Regions from separate parts of the Homo sapiens genome. Here all the other regions are linked to region 1. Evidence: promoter capture Hi-C in 16 types of primary human blood cells and fetal thymus (Javierre and others, 2016). All regions are on one chromosome and are shown on one strand. Each heading gives the region's core, a stretch centred on a gene start or on the middle of the fragment in contact. The rest is flanking DNA. Distances are from core to core; before and after follow the strand shown. Region 1 holds the start of SH3BP4 (SH3 domain binding protein 4). Region 2 has its middle 53 kb from the start of ARL4C. Region 3 has its middle 71 kb from the start of ARL4C.

Region 1 (4,940 bases), core at 1,645-4,144:
GGTGAGAACACTGGTACTGAGTGGCCCTGCTTTATGTCACCCAGCAGGTGAGTGGTGGGTCTGGCATTCAAAGCTGGGCAGCCTGATTTTAGAACCTACCACACTGTCTTTATACATAGATGCATGTCCACGTATATATACCCACACACATCACGCACATATGTATCATCTACACATGCACGCACCCAACGCGTGCAAACGCTTGGGGAAAACCTCTGGTAGAGTATAATTCACTGTGAACTATGGAATCTGGGAAAGGGTAGGAACTTAGGATCGATGCTTACTTTTTACTCTACACATTTCTCTAATCATTTTAATCCTTTGAAACAAATGTGTTATCTCTGTACTAAAAAAAAATAAAAACCCAAGTTATTGATTTTGCTGTATGTGTTCCCACTGGAAAGGCTTATTGAATAATTGAATGTTATGAATGAATAGCTCATTTTTTTTTCTTTTGATCCAGAGGCCTTTAGAAGAGCAAGTAACAAAAACTGGTGGAAAAAAAGCACACATTCAACAGGAAGCAACATCTAGAGACCTTTCTGCCTTCCAGGATACAAAAAGAAAACAGTTCATAAACAACTTACATCTAAACCAGTAATGTTGTCTCCCTGGCTCATAGGAGCTGAAGAAGAATTCCAGTTACTGTAGTAAGAATATAAGGTAATGTGTTCTTGTTTTTTTTTTCTTTTTTTTTTTAACCACTTTGTTTAAACATTCTGACCTCTGTTAATTCCTCTCTAGGATGTGGACTGGTTTGAGGATGCTTGAGGCATGACTATAGCAAGTACTGCGCATACATATGTGGACATCGTAAGACACACTCTCTGCTTCCCCAGGCGAAATCTGTAATGCTTTGTTTATTCATGTTCTATTCTGCGTTTCCATGGCACTTTGTTCTTTGTGGTTTTTAGGGTATCTTTCTCCCTCTCTGCTCAGTGAACTGAGCTGCCTGGACAGGCCTTGAGTTTTCTTATTCGATTGTTTTTTGTGTGTGTATGTTTTGCCTTAGCTCCCTCACTAGTATAGTCAAGGAGCTTTTCATGCTTTGAGCCATTTGTGGCATTTCAGGAATTACCTTCATAGCTTTTGTCCATTTTCTACTGGCTTGTCTTTTTCAATGTTTTTATAGGCATTTTTTAAAAAACACAGTGTGGATGTCATTTGGGATAGCAGTACTAATAGTAGCTAAAACTTACTGAAAGCTACTGTGTGCCAGGCAGTCTGCTGAGCACTTTACATGCTGCCTTTCATTTTTACACTCATTTAGGAAACTGAGTCACAGAGAGGCGAGATAACTTGCCAGAGATTCAAGCACACTCCAGACACATCCCTACACCAATCAGACCTCCTAGCCACCCAGAAACTCTCCTCTGCTCGGAGGCTTCTCTGCTTCCTCCACCTGCCCCTTCGCCTCACTGCCTCCTTTCAAAATCTGCGGCATGTATTTTAGGGATACTCGTATCCATTTTCAGGAATTCCATGATCTACACACAGATGACACCAAAATCGGAACAGCAATGTCCACCCTTCTCCCGAGCCCTAGGTCGGTGCCTCTGTCCACCTGTGTCTCCTGAAACTTCAACACAGACTTCAAATGGAGTGGCAGAAAACCAGATTCCTTAGGGAAAGGAAGGTCTCCCAGACGGCAGGAGCGGCAGGCCTTAGGGGCAGCCGCAGGGGCTCGGGAGTCTGAACATACCCGGTTTGAATTCAGACTCTGGCACGCCCCATGCGATCATAACATAGTGCTGCACGTCTCAAGCCACCTATAAAAACGGGGACAATAACAATATCTGCCTCGGGGTTAATGGTGAGGACTGACTGTGTGTGTCTCGCTCAGGACCAGGAGCAACAAATGTTGGCTTCTTCCCCGGCAAAGACCCGCGCTTTCTCCTGGGCTCCGGGTTCCCGGGGTGGGGGTGGGCGCAGTCCCGAGGGCCCCAGGCAGTGGCGCAGTGGTTAGACCCCAGCCTCTGGAGTCGGCCTCGGTTCAGATTCTGGTTCTACCCTTCTCCTCTGTGGCGAACCAACCCTCCGAGCTCTAGTTTACTCGTGTGAAATGGACTAGCCAAAATTGGGATTTTTTTTTTTTTTTAGGATTAGATGTGTCGGTCCATAGACGTTGCTGGCCACATAGTTAAGTGGTGCGTTCACTCACTGGGCATTGATGGAGCGCCTACTACGTGCCAGGCCTGTTTTACGCGCCGGGGGCCCAGAGGCGCCCAGGTCAGACAAAGTGTAAACGATTCCGACCAGAGCCCTTCAATCTGCATTCCGCTTCGCAGGAAACTCTCCTCCTTTTATGATTTTCAGCCGGACTGCCTTCCCTGTTGTTAGTTTGTAACTTTCGCTCCGGCCCCCGCAGCCTCGCGCCTGCCTTCCCTCCACTGTCCTCAGCCAAGGTGTAGTAAAGCGTCTCCGAACGCGGCGCGACCCTCGCCCACGCCCGCTCGCGGGGGGACCGCACCGCCCCAGGGGTCCTCGCTAGGGGTTCCCGGAGAAGGGGTGGGAGATGGGGGTGCGGGGGGGCACAGGAGCGCGGGCCAGCACCCAGACCTGCTCGGTACCGGGGACCCAGACCCGAGGATGCCGGGCGGCCAAGGCCCCGCTACCCTGGCCGGCTCCGGGCGGAGGAAGAAGAGGAGGCGCCCAGACTGGATACCCGCCTGGACCCGGAGCCGCGGCACCACCCCCAGCCCGCCCCACGCTCGCCAGCCTCAGACGGCCGCGCCCCGCCCCGCCCCTCTCCCGAAGCCCCGCCCCGGCGCGGGACCACCCCCTCCGCGGCCTCAGCTCCGGTCCTGGCCCCGCCCCCCGCGCCCCCGCCCCCGCCCCCGCCCCCGCCCCCGCCCAGGCGCGGGACCACCCTCCGCCCGCCGAGGCGGGGGCCCAGCGCGCCCGGCACTCTCGGCGGTCCGGGCCCCTCGCCACTACCGCCGCCGCCGCCGCCGTGAGTCCCGCGGAGCCGCGCGCGCCCCCGGCTGGGCCGAGCCGCTGGCCGACGAGCGGAGCCTCAGGAGCCGGCGGGGACGCCATGCGAGCCAGGTAGGCAGGCGGCGGCGGGGAGCGCCTCGGGCGGCAGGGCCCTGGGGGCCGGCGGGGGCGCGGGGTCGTGCTCGGGGGCTTTGCACTCCCTTGCGGGCGCAGATCGTGCCGCGGGCGCCGATCGTGCCACCGCCGCCTGAGTTCGGGGCTGCGCGGGTGCCTGGGCGTGGGGCGGCTTCGGGGAAGCCTCGCGCGCCCCTCGCCGCTCCCCCGGGCGCTCGGGTCTCCCTGGTGCTGGTGGGCAGGGACCCGGCCCGGGGTTCCGGGCGCCGAGCCGCAGCCCTCCGCGTGCGCTCGGGCCGCCCCCCAACCCCGGCTCTGGCCACTTCCCGGCGGGCGGCCCTGCGGGGTGGCCTCCCTGGGCAACCGGACGCGTCCTCGGGCGCAAATCGGGGGGCGCGCTCGGCTCACGGGGGCCGTGGGGGCCACGGGAGGGCGTGGAGGGGTCGGGGCGCCCCCCTCGAGCGGCGCTGGGGAGGAGGGAAGGACGCGCGGTCTCCGGTTAAACTTGTTGGTGACAATGCATATTTCAACTTCTTCGGAGATCCCTCCTGTGAGGATGAAATTGAAAACTCCGGTTTCTGGCTTGGCGATCGGGTGACCGAGCAGCCGCGAGGTGACAGCGCCGGCGGCCCGCGGGCGGGGACCGGCTGGGATAGAGGCGCGTTGTTCTCTGAGCGATGTTTACCGAGAAGCCCGCTCCGCGGCACGGGCGGGTGTCAGTTGGGACCCCAACCCTGGGTCCCGCGGCTCCTAGCCCGGGGCCTGCGGTGTAGACGGGGGTTGGGGACAGGCCCAGCTGGCCCTGACCGGGTGTCGGGCGCCCAGAGATGCCGCGCGGGAGGAGCCGCGGGAGAGCCGCCGGACTCAGCGAGCAGAGGGTCGTGGAGCCTGATGGATCGATGAGATCTGAAAAAGAACACTGTGCGAGATTGTATTCCTGCTTATTCTTTCCAAGTTAGTAGGCAGATTGGAACTATAGAATTTATCCGTGATAATAATAAAGTTCGCATAACTTTTGTTCTGATTACAGAAACAATGTATGCTCAGGACAGAAAGCTAGAGATAAAGAGAAATATAAACAGCAAACAGGAAACCATCCCCAATCCCACATTTTTTACCAGCCTTGTCACAGCCTGGCAGATTTGAACATTAAGTTAGAACTGGAGCCATTCTTGCCTAAACCAGAGAATCCCTGAATGCAGCCGCCCCTTCTCACCCTTGTGACCGTCTCTGAGCTCCAAAGTTTGGGTTTTTTCCTTGCTCCCTACCCGGGCAGAATCTCTGCTGGCCACGAGTCCCCTTCCCAGTGGGCTGGGGGCTTTCCTTGAGATCCGTGGCCCAGATGAAATGATGGGAGAGGCCTGGATCCTCACCGCCCTCTGTGGTTTTGGTTCCTTGCCTTGTAAAAATGAAGGTAATGATTCTCAATCTGCTTCTCAAGCCACCATAAAAATTAATGGGTGGTTTGCAGAGCGTTTTGACATCCGTGGATGGACAGCGGCTGTACTTTAAGGCGCTGGGGAACATTCTACTGTTCCTCATTGCAGTGGTCATGCAGTGTAATAGGCTGCCTCTCACCTGGCCGTCCTGCCCAGGAAACAGACTCCAGGAATGTCCAGTGGAGCCCTGAGGACAATATTCCTGGTTCCTTGCTCAGTGCCCTCGGGACTCGGCCAAATCCCTCAGAGTGGGAAGCTTGGGAAGAGGCAGCGCTCTCCAATCCCCCTCCTCCACCTCTGCTTTCTGCTTGTAGGCGGATTTCTTAAAGTAAGGGGGCAGTGATATTTAGGCGGGACCCCAGATTGCCCACTGCCTGATGTTTGTGGGTCTGTGGAATGCCCGGGCCGTGCTTATCCAAAAGAACAGTTAGTTCTGGGAGGACGCATAAA
Region 2 (4,940 bases), core at 2,078-4,577, 400 kb before region 1:
CAAGCAGGAAGGGAGTGGGGTGAGGAGGCCCTGGCCCTCACTAGTCTTAAGATATTCAGCTTTCCTGGAGGAGGTGTTACCTAAATCAGGTGCTGAGGAAAGCAGGTGTCATTCAGGGAGATGATGGGGGCAGTGGGGAGAGGATCTGGAGAGAGGACATCTCATGCCAAACTGAAAGGGCCCAGGGAGGAAAGGTCGGTGCACAGGGTGGTGAGGGCGTGCTGTGTGTGGTGGGCGCACAGCAGGGAAGGCAGAGGTGGATTCAAGGAAGTGAGAAGGGGCAGTATGAGGAGGTGAGGTAAACTCAGGAGAAGTTGAAGAAGCAGTCAGTTTGGCCTGAGGAAGAATCAAGGGCAATTCTTTTTGAAGCAGTGAGAGCTGCCCAAAATGCTGAAAACACAGACGCAAGGGTAGACGGATTCTGTGGCCTCCATGTCATAGGAATAGAATGAATGGCTGAAGGGCAGAAGGAGGAGTGTTGGAGGATAAATGGAAGCAGAGACAGCAGTTACTGAGCAGGTGCAACACATCAGGTGCCTTATGTGTGTCCTCCTGTTGATTCTCACAGCAATGCTGGAGTGGAACAATTATACCTTCCACCTTCCACAGGAGGTAGCTGAGGCCAGTGCACTTAGGAAACTTGCCCAATATTATGGGCTGCCAATTGGTGGAGCTGGGATTTGAACCCAGGAAGCCTGGTTCCCAGGCCTGTGCCAATGAAAGGCAACCAACCATGAAGCAGGCACCTTCTAAGGCAGTGAGGATCTCATTGCTGGAAATTTTCTAGAAGGGGGCGATATAGTGGACATTTGTGGCTAGCTCCCCAGCGCTTGTATAAGTCAGCACACTCCAATCCCTGTTTCCCCAGGGGCACCCACATGATGGAAGAGCTGGCCAGCCCCAGCTGCCATAAAAACCCTGGCCAAGGGAGGCACAGAGCGGTCCCTGGGGGCACTGGCCTACCTGACCACAGCGTCCAAAGCTCGTGGCCTCTGGGCTTTCCACTAGGAGGGGTGATTGGAAGAAAGAGTGAAAGGCATCCAGGAGCTAAATGATAAGAACTCATGAACACAAAGAAGAAAATAACAGACACGGGTCTACTTGGGGGTGGAGGGTGGGGGAAGGGAGAAGAGCAGAAGAGATCACTACTGGGTACTGGGCTTAATTCCTGGGGGATAAAATAATCTGTGCAACGGATGTCGTGACATGAGTTTACCTATGTAACAAACCTGCACATGTACCCCTGAACCCAAAATAAACGTTGACAAGAAGAAAGGCATCAAGGAATTAAATTGTTAAACTTTGGGAAAAAGTTGCAGCTCAGGCAGACTTGGAGGAGAGAGAAACCAGTGTTTTGGAGTGAGAGAGAGGAAACAGGCAGTTCTGAATTCTTTGGAGCAGTCGAGGGAGCCCAGGCAGGGGCTAAAGACACCCGCTCGAGGGCGTGGCTGCCTTCCCGAACCCCTTCGCCCTGGCCAAGGCCTCCTCCTCTATGAGAACAAAGTCAGAATTGAGAAAAACTACACACAAAAGGATAATCATCCATTCAGACGGTGAGGGTGCTGAGTGAGCTGTGTCTAGGGGAAACCAGCGGGGAGGGCCCGGGAGGAGTTTGTGCTACAGCAAGAATATTATGAAGAAGAAAATGACTTCACCAGAAAAGGGCAGCCTGAGCCTGTGGCCTCCATGGCTTCTCCAGGCTATGGGTCTGTGCTTCTCCTACAGACTCTAGTAACGTCTGAGTTGCTTGAAAAAGAAATCGAGGGGCTTTACACCCATGTTGTCACACCTGTGCTTATCATTAGCATTACAATCTGGAAAGGGGGCGGGCTGGGGAGAGAGGGAAGCTTCCTCTCCTGGGGCCCAGGGACATGTGGTCTGGAATCCTAGCAACCCAAACAGCTGGCTGCTGTACTGGCTTCTTGGCCGGTCCCCTCTCATACTCCAATATAGAGATGCAGACAGTGAGTCAATGAGTTCCCATCACTGATAAGTCACATGGTTTGGGTTTGCCTCGTTTTGTGTCTTGCAAACAAAAGCATTCTGATGGATTTGGCTGAGGTCAGTCCGCCCTCTCTCAGGGTTGCTATGGAAGGAATCTCTCCATCAGGAGGTGTGTGGACGAGGACCTCTGAGATCTCTGGCTCAACTCTAAGATTCTATTACTCCTTCGTATGATTCAAAGTTGCGTAGGTTCTTCTTCTTTCAGGTGCAGGTGGAAAACATTTAAAGACACAGAGTTTTTAAATTGTTTTATATTTTAGATTCAGGGGTTACACGTGCAGGTTTGTTTCAAGGATATATCATGTGATGCTGATGTTTGGACTTCTATTGATTCCATCACCCACATAGTGAGGGTAGTACCCAGTAGAAAGTCTTCAGCCCTTTCTCCCCACTCCCTCCCTTTCTCCCTCCTTCTCTCCTTTTGGAGTCCCCAGTGCCTATTGTTCTCATCTTTATATTTGCGTGTACCAAGGTTTAGCACCCACTTGTAAGTGAGATGTGACATTTGCCTTTTTGTTTCTGCATTACTTCATTTAGAATGATGGCCTGCAGCCACATCTATGTTGCTGCAAAGGACATAATTTCACTCTTTTTTATGGCTCCATAGTATTCCATGGTGTACATGTATGACATTTTCTTATTCAGTCCACCATTGATGGACATCTAGGTTGATTCCATGAAGAGAGACACAATCTTAATTATTTTGTCATCACAGACGTCACTAAGACAAAAAGAGGGAACATTTAACGTAAGTTCTACAACCTAATGACACCGACAGGAATTCGATCCTGGTTTTGGAAAGCTTAAATTAGACACACACACGTGCTCAGGCACACACAAAGCAGAATTCTTTGTCTAACTTAGACCCCAACTTCAGAGGGTAAGTTCAAGTTCACATCTTGAAAATTTAAATGGCTCTATTAAGACATTCTTCCCATATCCTTGGGTTTAAAATGCAGTGAGTCAACCAGCCAAACTAATTTCGTACTCAACTCTCATATACTTGAACGAATTATGGCTATTTTTAACAGGATTATGAAGATTATCAAAATCACTTGAGAGAGTAAGAAATCCTGTTGGAAGGAAGTATAATACCCTTGCAAAGATAAGTATAATTAGTGTGGAAAAGGGCGATGAAAAATTAATAGAGTTTTAAGGTCAAAGATACATGCAGATGTGTAAAATCCTCAAATTAGTTCTTGTAAGACTCTGTCCTAACAAATTCCGCGATCAGAACATTCTCCGAAGTTTTTCTGCATTCTTCAGACTCTCCAAGAGTGGAAGGTGCCAACTGCATCCCTAGCCAGGGCAGGAGAACAAAGAGAGGAACCCACATCGTGACCACAACCATCTCAGCCCCGAACGACGCTGCTCTCATAGCGAAGGTGTTCAGTTTCACCACTAGAGGGAGCGCAGAGCCCACAGCATCATCATAAGGTTAGGGAGAAAGAAGAAATTGGGTCCAGAAACTTCCTTCGGCATCCCCCACCCACCACAGATAAACGTTACAGCGATCTCATGGGAGAATTGAGAATGCACACAGGTCAAACGATCTTGTGGTAGACCACAGGCTGGGTAAGTTCATTTGCAAGTCCTTGCTGTCTGCTAGCCTCCAGCGCGTGCCTTACAGACACTTTTGATGGATAATCACACCTTTCTCACAAGGGTTCCGTGAGTCACTATTTTGCAGAAGAAGCAACTGAGGCCCAGAGAGTAACTTGTTCGAGTTGATAAAGCAAGTAAGTCTTCCGGACTCCAAAGATGGTGCCTGTAACAGTGTTCCCAGGAAGCACCCAGGACTCAGGACGCTCTTTGAAGATCACAATTGTATGATCTCACTGAAAACAAGCTTCTGCCCCTGAAGTCATGTTTTGACATCCTAGCTGTTCCTGGGAACTCATCCACAACGTCCCATTAAAAGTGGCCATGACATTACAGAAAGAAAACAGAAAAGAAGGAGAGAGTGAGAGAGAAATTCACAAGAGTGCCCCTACCACCAGGAACCTAAAAAACAGAGAGAAAATCCACAGGCCAAGAGGAAATCCACTGGGCTGCTAGTGGAGTTTGACAGAGAAGCACAAGTCATCATCGGATATCCTGTTTCTAATATGAATGGTAAAGGCCTCAATTTATTTATTTAATTTAATTTAATTTTTTGAGACGGAGTTTCACTCTTGTTGCCCAGGCTGGAGTGCAATGGTGTGATCTCGGCTCACTGCAACCTCCGCCTCCCTGGTTCAAGTGATTCTCCTGCCTCAGCCTCCCAAGAAGCTAGGATTACAGGCACGCACTACCACACCCAGCTAATTTTTGTATTTGTAGTAGTGACAGGGTTTCACCATGTTGCCCAGGATGGTCTGGAACTCCTGACTTCAGGTGATTCCCCCGCCTCGGCCTTCCCAAAGTGCTGGGATTACAGGCCTGAGCCACCGCGCCCAGCCAATTTATTTTTACAAAAGAATATTTCTATAACAAATAAGAAAAAATGGAATTATAACAACACTGTTGGTTTATAGCATCGAATGAACAAAAATCGGGGTATAAAGGAGGGGATGGCAGTTCTTTCCATGGATAAGGCATAGTCAAAATTCCTACTCATTTTTTTTTAACTCTGATAATTAAGCGATAGGGATAAACACAACTTGGTAAACCAAAAATTAAAGACTAAGAACTGAATGTCTCTTCTTTCAAATACAAGAGAAAATTCATGTAAATAAATAAATATGATATACTTAATACATATAATATTAACATCAATATTAATAATATAATATTATATATTAAATATTATATTCTTAATTATAAAAGATAGGAAGTGAAAGGAACAACAGTGAGCCCCCAAAGAGACAAAAGTGTGAAACTACACAGCAAGAATGAGTGAAAGAGAGTTGTTTAAATTCCATAGTTAGGGCCGGGCGCGGTGGCTCACGCCTGTA
Region 3 (4,940 bases), core at 1,196-3,695, 380 kb before region 1:
CTATTAATAGTAAAAGACTACTATTGCATGTCAATCTCTGACATTTGGATTCAATGTAAAATTGTGGTTTTATGCTTCTCTACCCCAAACTGAACCTTCCCACTCAGTCCAGGGCTAAACAGATGGGGCCTGCAGACCTCTTTTGCTGTATCTGCAGTGAAGGACTATGGCCTTGGCTCATTAACAGGCAGCTCCAAGTGAGAGTACAAGCCAGGGCCTAGACCAGGCAAGAACAACTATCCTCACTCCAATTTTGCCATCGGGAGGCAAGTCCCTCCAGGAGTCTGCCATCCTTGCAATGCTTCTTTGATTGAGCAGAAGTACTGTAAAAAGTGCCACTGCTATGGACCAGTGAAAAAAATAAGAGTATTCTGTGTATATCAACTGTGGACCAACCAGATAGCTTTACCAACATTATGCTTTAGGTGTGACAAAAAGTTGTGGGTTTTTTTTTTTTTCTATGTGCGTGTGTGTGTTTTTTTTTTTTTTTTTTTTTTTTTTTTTTTTTTTTTTTTTTTTTTTTTGAGACAGGGTCTCACTCTGTCACAGGCTGGAGTGCAGTGGTACAGTCTGGGCTCACTGCAGCCTCGACCTCCCAGGCTCAAGTGAGCCTCCTGAATAGCTGGGACTACAGGTACCTGCCACCATGCCTGGCTAATTTTTTGTATTTTTTTTGTAGAGACCGGGTTTCACGATGTTGCCCAAGCTGGTCTTTGAACTCCTGGGCTCAAGCAATCCTCCCACCTCGGACTCCCAAAGTGCTGGGGATTATAGGCATGAACCACTGTGCCCAGCCAAAAAGTTTTATTTTTGTTCAAATTATTTTTCCTAGCCTTAGCTTACTTGACCACTGCTGTGTAACTTCACCACTACCACTATCAACAACAACATGTACCCTCAGCCTTCCACAAACACCCAGCATAGCAACCTAGCTAGTAGTTTTCGTCTTTTAAAAAATGTCCGTCCCGTTTCTGTTCCATTATTCACAGTGAAAGGAGTCAAAACAGGAGAATAGGGAAGTCGGAGGAAATTGACAGTCTATCCCTTTGATCCTTCTTAACCAGGGAACAGAACAATGACCTTGCTGGAGGGAACCGCGTTACCAGGGAACAATGACCTAAATAACTCTGACACTGGGTGAAAATGTGGAGGATTCCAGACATCTGAGGTTGAGATGAGCTGGATGGTTTAGTGCTTAAGCATGGCTAGCACCAGACTGACATCAGTTCAGTAATATTCCTTCCTACACTGAAGGTGAGTGAAAACATCTCCCATGAACCCTTGGTGCAGACTTCACAACATCTTGCTGTGTCTGTTTTCTTTTTAAACACAAAGTTTCTTATTTTTTCAAACTTTTCATTTCAAAATAATTCGATATTCAGAGGAAGTTGCAAAGATTGTATAGAGAGGTACTATGTAACCTTCACCTGTCTCCCCCAGTGTGACACAGTACTATGCAAACACAATATGATTACAGTCCAATTTCCACGATATGAATTGCAGTACAATTTCAACATCAGGCAATTGGTGTTGGTGCAATCCACAGGCCTTATTCACCAGTTCCACAAGCACTTATTTGTGTGTGTGTGTGTGTGTGTGTGTGTGTGGTTTGGGCACATGTGTAGATTCATACCCCCACCCACCACCACAATGAAGATACAGAGTTGTTTCATCAGCACAGAGATTCCTCTTGTGCTGTCAAGTTTCTTAACATGTTGATGTTCACCTAGTTTGGTAATAAGATTGGGTTCTTGCTGAAATAACACATCGAACATAGGGTGTACTGTTCTTATGAAGACCTCACATAAAATCCTTTGCCCTGGGACAAATGTGCTTCTTCCCACCTGGATACAGTTTACCCTAATTCAAGACAAAAATTGTGAAAAGGAAATAATCAATCTTGAGGTTTTTGTCTTCATCCAATCAAGCACCCAGCACTATTAAGACTTCCTCCAAAACACACTGAATTCCATGCAGTCTTTCCATCCCATTGGCATGGTCATTGTTCAGGATGCAAATGTCTTTTCCCTGGATCAATGTGACAGACATCCATCCAAATGGCAGCTCTGCCTCCATTCGTGTTCCCCTGCAGCAATCCAGCCACCACCATACGGCCACAGGGCTCCTTTAAAAGGGCCAATCATGTCACATCAGCCCCTCTCCCAACCAGTCCTGTTTAATAAAACTTAATGCTCCTCCCATGGATCTTGTGAGCAAATTTAAACTCCAGCTGGTGGCTCATGAGACCGCTTGCTATCAGCCCTGCTATCAACCCCCTGCCAATCCTTGCAGTGGCCTTCACCTCTCCTCCCCTGATGTCCAGCAACACTGGATTTCCTGTGCCCTTGGGTTGGGTGTGCTCTCTTCACATCTGGGCCACCCATGTGATGCTGACCACCCCATTCTCTCTCCTATTGCCCCCGGATCGCTGCTCATCCTTCTAATGTCAGCTTCGACACCACTTCCTCCAAAAACCCTTCTTCAGCTTCCCAAGTGTGTGCTACATGCCTCTCTGTGTGCATCCTGGGGCGAGGGTTCCACGGGACCCTCAGCACAGTGTGTGATCTTGGCCACCAAATATCGGGGTCCACCTGCAGCCTTTAAGCTCCAGCCACACAAAGACGCTTCTCACTTGTTTACCTTTGCATTCTGATGAAAATGACACCCAGACATAAGATGCCCTTATTGGGACAGGGAAAAGTGAGGACAATGTGGGAAAGTTCAAGAATGAGGCCTGAGAAACCCATATAAGGAGGAGAATGAGGGATTCAGCCTCTTGACAGGGAATGTCCTCATTCTTACGGTATCATCCCACCATTACCCACTGATTTCAGAGGGAGGATGTGCTTCCGATGGAGACGCTCTGTAGCAGCTCCTTCGTCGAGTGATGGAATGCAGCCACCCAGCATACATGCCTCTGGGTGGGGCCCTGTGAAGACAGCAGTGTCACCAATGGAGTGTTGCCAGCCAGGGTATTTGAATCTGATCAAGAGAAAACAATCAGACAAATCTAGAGGAAGGCCGTCTTCATGACAGCTGGTCTGGACCCTCTAAATAGGTCAACAGTATGAAAAGCAAAAGATGAGGTGGCTATTCTTGATTTTCTAAAATAGAGATGAATAGCAGCCAAATACAATGCTTGATTTAAAAAAACACTGTAAAATATTTTTGGGACAATGGGGACTTGAACATGGAGTGGCTTTCAGATGATTTCATGGGATTCTTGTTAGTCTCCTTACGTGGGATCATTGTACTGGGGTCATGTGGATGGCGCTTATTCACTGGAGACTGGTGCATACTTAGGGATAAAGATCACAATGTCTGCAACTTACTTTCAAATGATTCATCAATAAATATATTTTGTCTCTGTGCACACATATGTGTGTATGCACACAAATGTCAAATGCATATGTGGCAAAATGTTAACAATTGGTGAATCTAAGATGCAATGTTCATTTTATTATTCTTCTTATTATTATTTTGAACAGAGTCTCACTCTGTCACCCCGGCTGGAGTGCAGTGGTGCGATCTCAGCTCACTGCAACCTCCGCCTCCCGGGTTCAAGCGATTCTCCTGCTTCAGCCTCCTGAGTAGCTAGGACTACAGGCACGGGCCACCACGCCTGGCTAATTTTTTGTATTTTTAGTAGAGGTGAGGTTTCACCATGTTAGCCAGGCTGGTCTCGATCTCCTGACCTCATGATCCGCCTACCTCAGCCCATTATATTATTTTTAAACTTCTCTGTAGGTCTGAACATATTCAAAGGAAAAAGTTGGAACAAGAAAGAGTGACTCAGGATGGAAACCTTGCCACCAAGGTGGGGTTACGTGGGGTCTGTGCCTTGAGTAGTAATGCATAACCCAGAAATCAGCCCTAAGCAGAGACACTGAGGACAATGGCGCGTGTTGGGCACTGCACAACCCTAAAGGAGCCATTTACATAGACAATCGTGTCAATGATGCTTCCCCCCATACCCTGTTCAACTGTCCACAGTCATCTGTGCCTAGAGGCAGTATATGCTGAACTAGACCGAAGCCTAGAGTGGCCAGATTCTGCATGCAGGAGTGGGGATTGGAGTAAACTAAATCAGTGTTTTCCAAGGTGTAGATCATGAGGGATTACTAAGTATTCTCTGAGACTGGAGGCGTTGTGAGGGCAGGCTGTGTATGGCTTTCTTCTGTTTCACCAGTGCAGAGCCCAGTATTTAGCACAAAATAGGGAGTCAATAATTTTTGTTTTTGCAATAACAAGTTAACTGCTACCAAATACATTTAAGAAATAGTGCATGAAACAGGATTGCTAGAATAAGATTTCTCAGAGACTTTGATACAGTAAATCCATGGGTGAATCTCCAAAAGGAGAACACAGGAGGCAATGTTCCTGAAACTAGCTCAACATGGAAACCTTCAACCACAAAGTGGCTCACAGGCATATTGCTATGTCCTGGATGCAACGTGTAAAATGTATTTCTTGTGGGTCATGGTCGAGAAAGTTTTAAATTTCCATTTTTAGAAAAAAGTCCATGAGTGTTTGTTGCTGAGATTTCTTGAGCTTCCTTCTTCTGCTCTTTCCATGGCTAACTATTTAGCTAGCTGTCAAGCCTCCTGCTGCTGTCTTCCCTTTCTTGCTTCAGTAAATCTGAGTCTGCTGCCACCCAAGAGCTGTGAAGTTTCTGCTGCTCCTCTTCAGTGGTTCCACGGTTCCATTTGCTGCACTATTGAGAAACTTTCTCAGTTTCTGGTCACAGGAACTAACTTAAATCAGCTGAGACACAAAAAGACAATTTATCGGTTTATGTGATCAAAAAGTCTGGTCATGGCCTAAAAATAAATCATAACATTTCTGTTTCTCTCTCCATTTCTCTGCCAGTGTCTTCATGTGGCTTCCGGAGGCCCCAGACTCATGTCCTATTAGTTTAGAGGTCTGACCCTGAGAGGCAG

What was found. Contacts are between HindIII fragments. The CHiCAGO score rates a contact against its expected background, and 5 or more counts as called.
Region 2: a fragment that was not itself captured here is called in contact with the fragment with the promoter of SH3BP4 in region 1 in 1 of 17 cell types (endothelial precursors); the score reaches 9.9 in endothelial precursors.
Region 3: a contact is called between a fragment that was not itself captured here and the fragment with the promoter of SH3BP4 in region 1, in 1 of 17 cell types (endothelial precursors). The highest score is 7.1, in endothelial precursors.

What each region holds. Positions count from the first base shown.
Region 1 is chr2:234,949,123-234,954,062 of GRCh38, forward strand. SH3BP4 (SH3 domain binding protein 4) reads left to right here and starts at 2,895. Exons shown (of 6, transcript NM_014521.3): 1 at 2,895-3,048. It overlaps LOC105373938 (a long non-coding RNA gene), which reads left to right. Exons shown (of 7, transcript XR_007088132.1): 3 at 1; 4 at 464-663; 5 at 745-813; 6 at 1,476-2,229; 7 at 2,317-2,677. RefSeq lists an enhancer at 3,348-3,997. The HindIII fragment of the contact is 10,965 bases long and covers 1-4,744 here.
Region 2 is chr2:234,547,307-234,552,246 of GRCh38, forward strand. No RefSeq gene overlaps it. Among named protein-coding and RNA genes, the nearest start is that of ARL4C, 53 kb to the left of the region's middle. The HindIII fragment of the contact is 1,047 bases long and covers 2,805-3,851 here.
Region 3 is chr2:234,565,289-234,570,228 of GRCh38, forward strand. No RefSeq gene overlaps it. Among named protein-coding and RNA genes, the nearest start is that of ARL4C, 71 kb to the left of the region's middle. The HindIII fragment of the contact is 5,682 bases long and covers 1-4,940 here.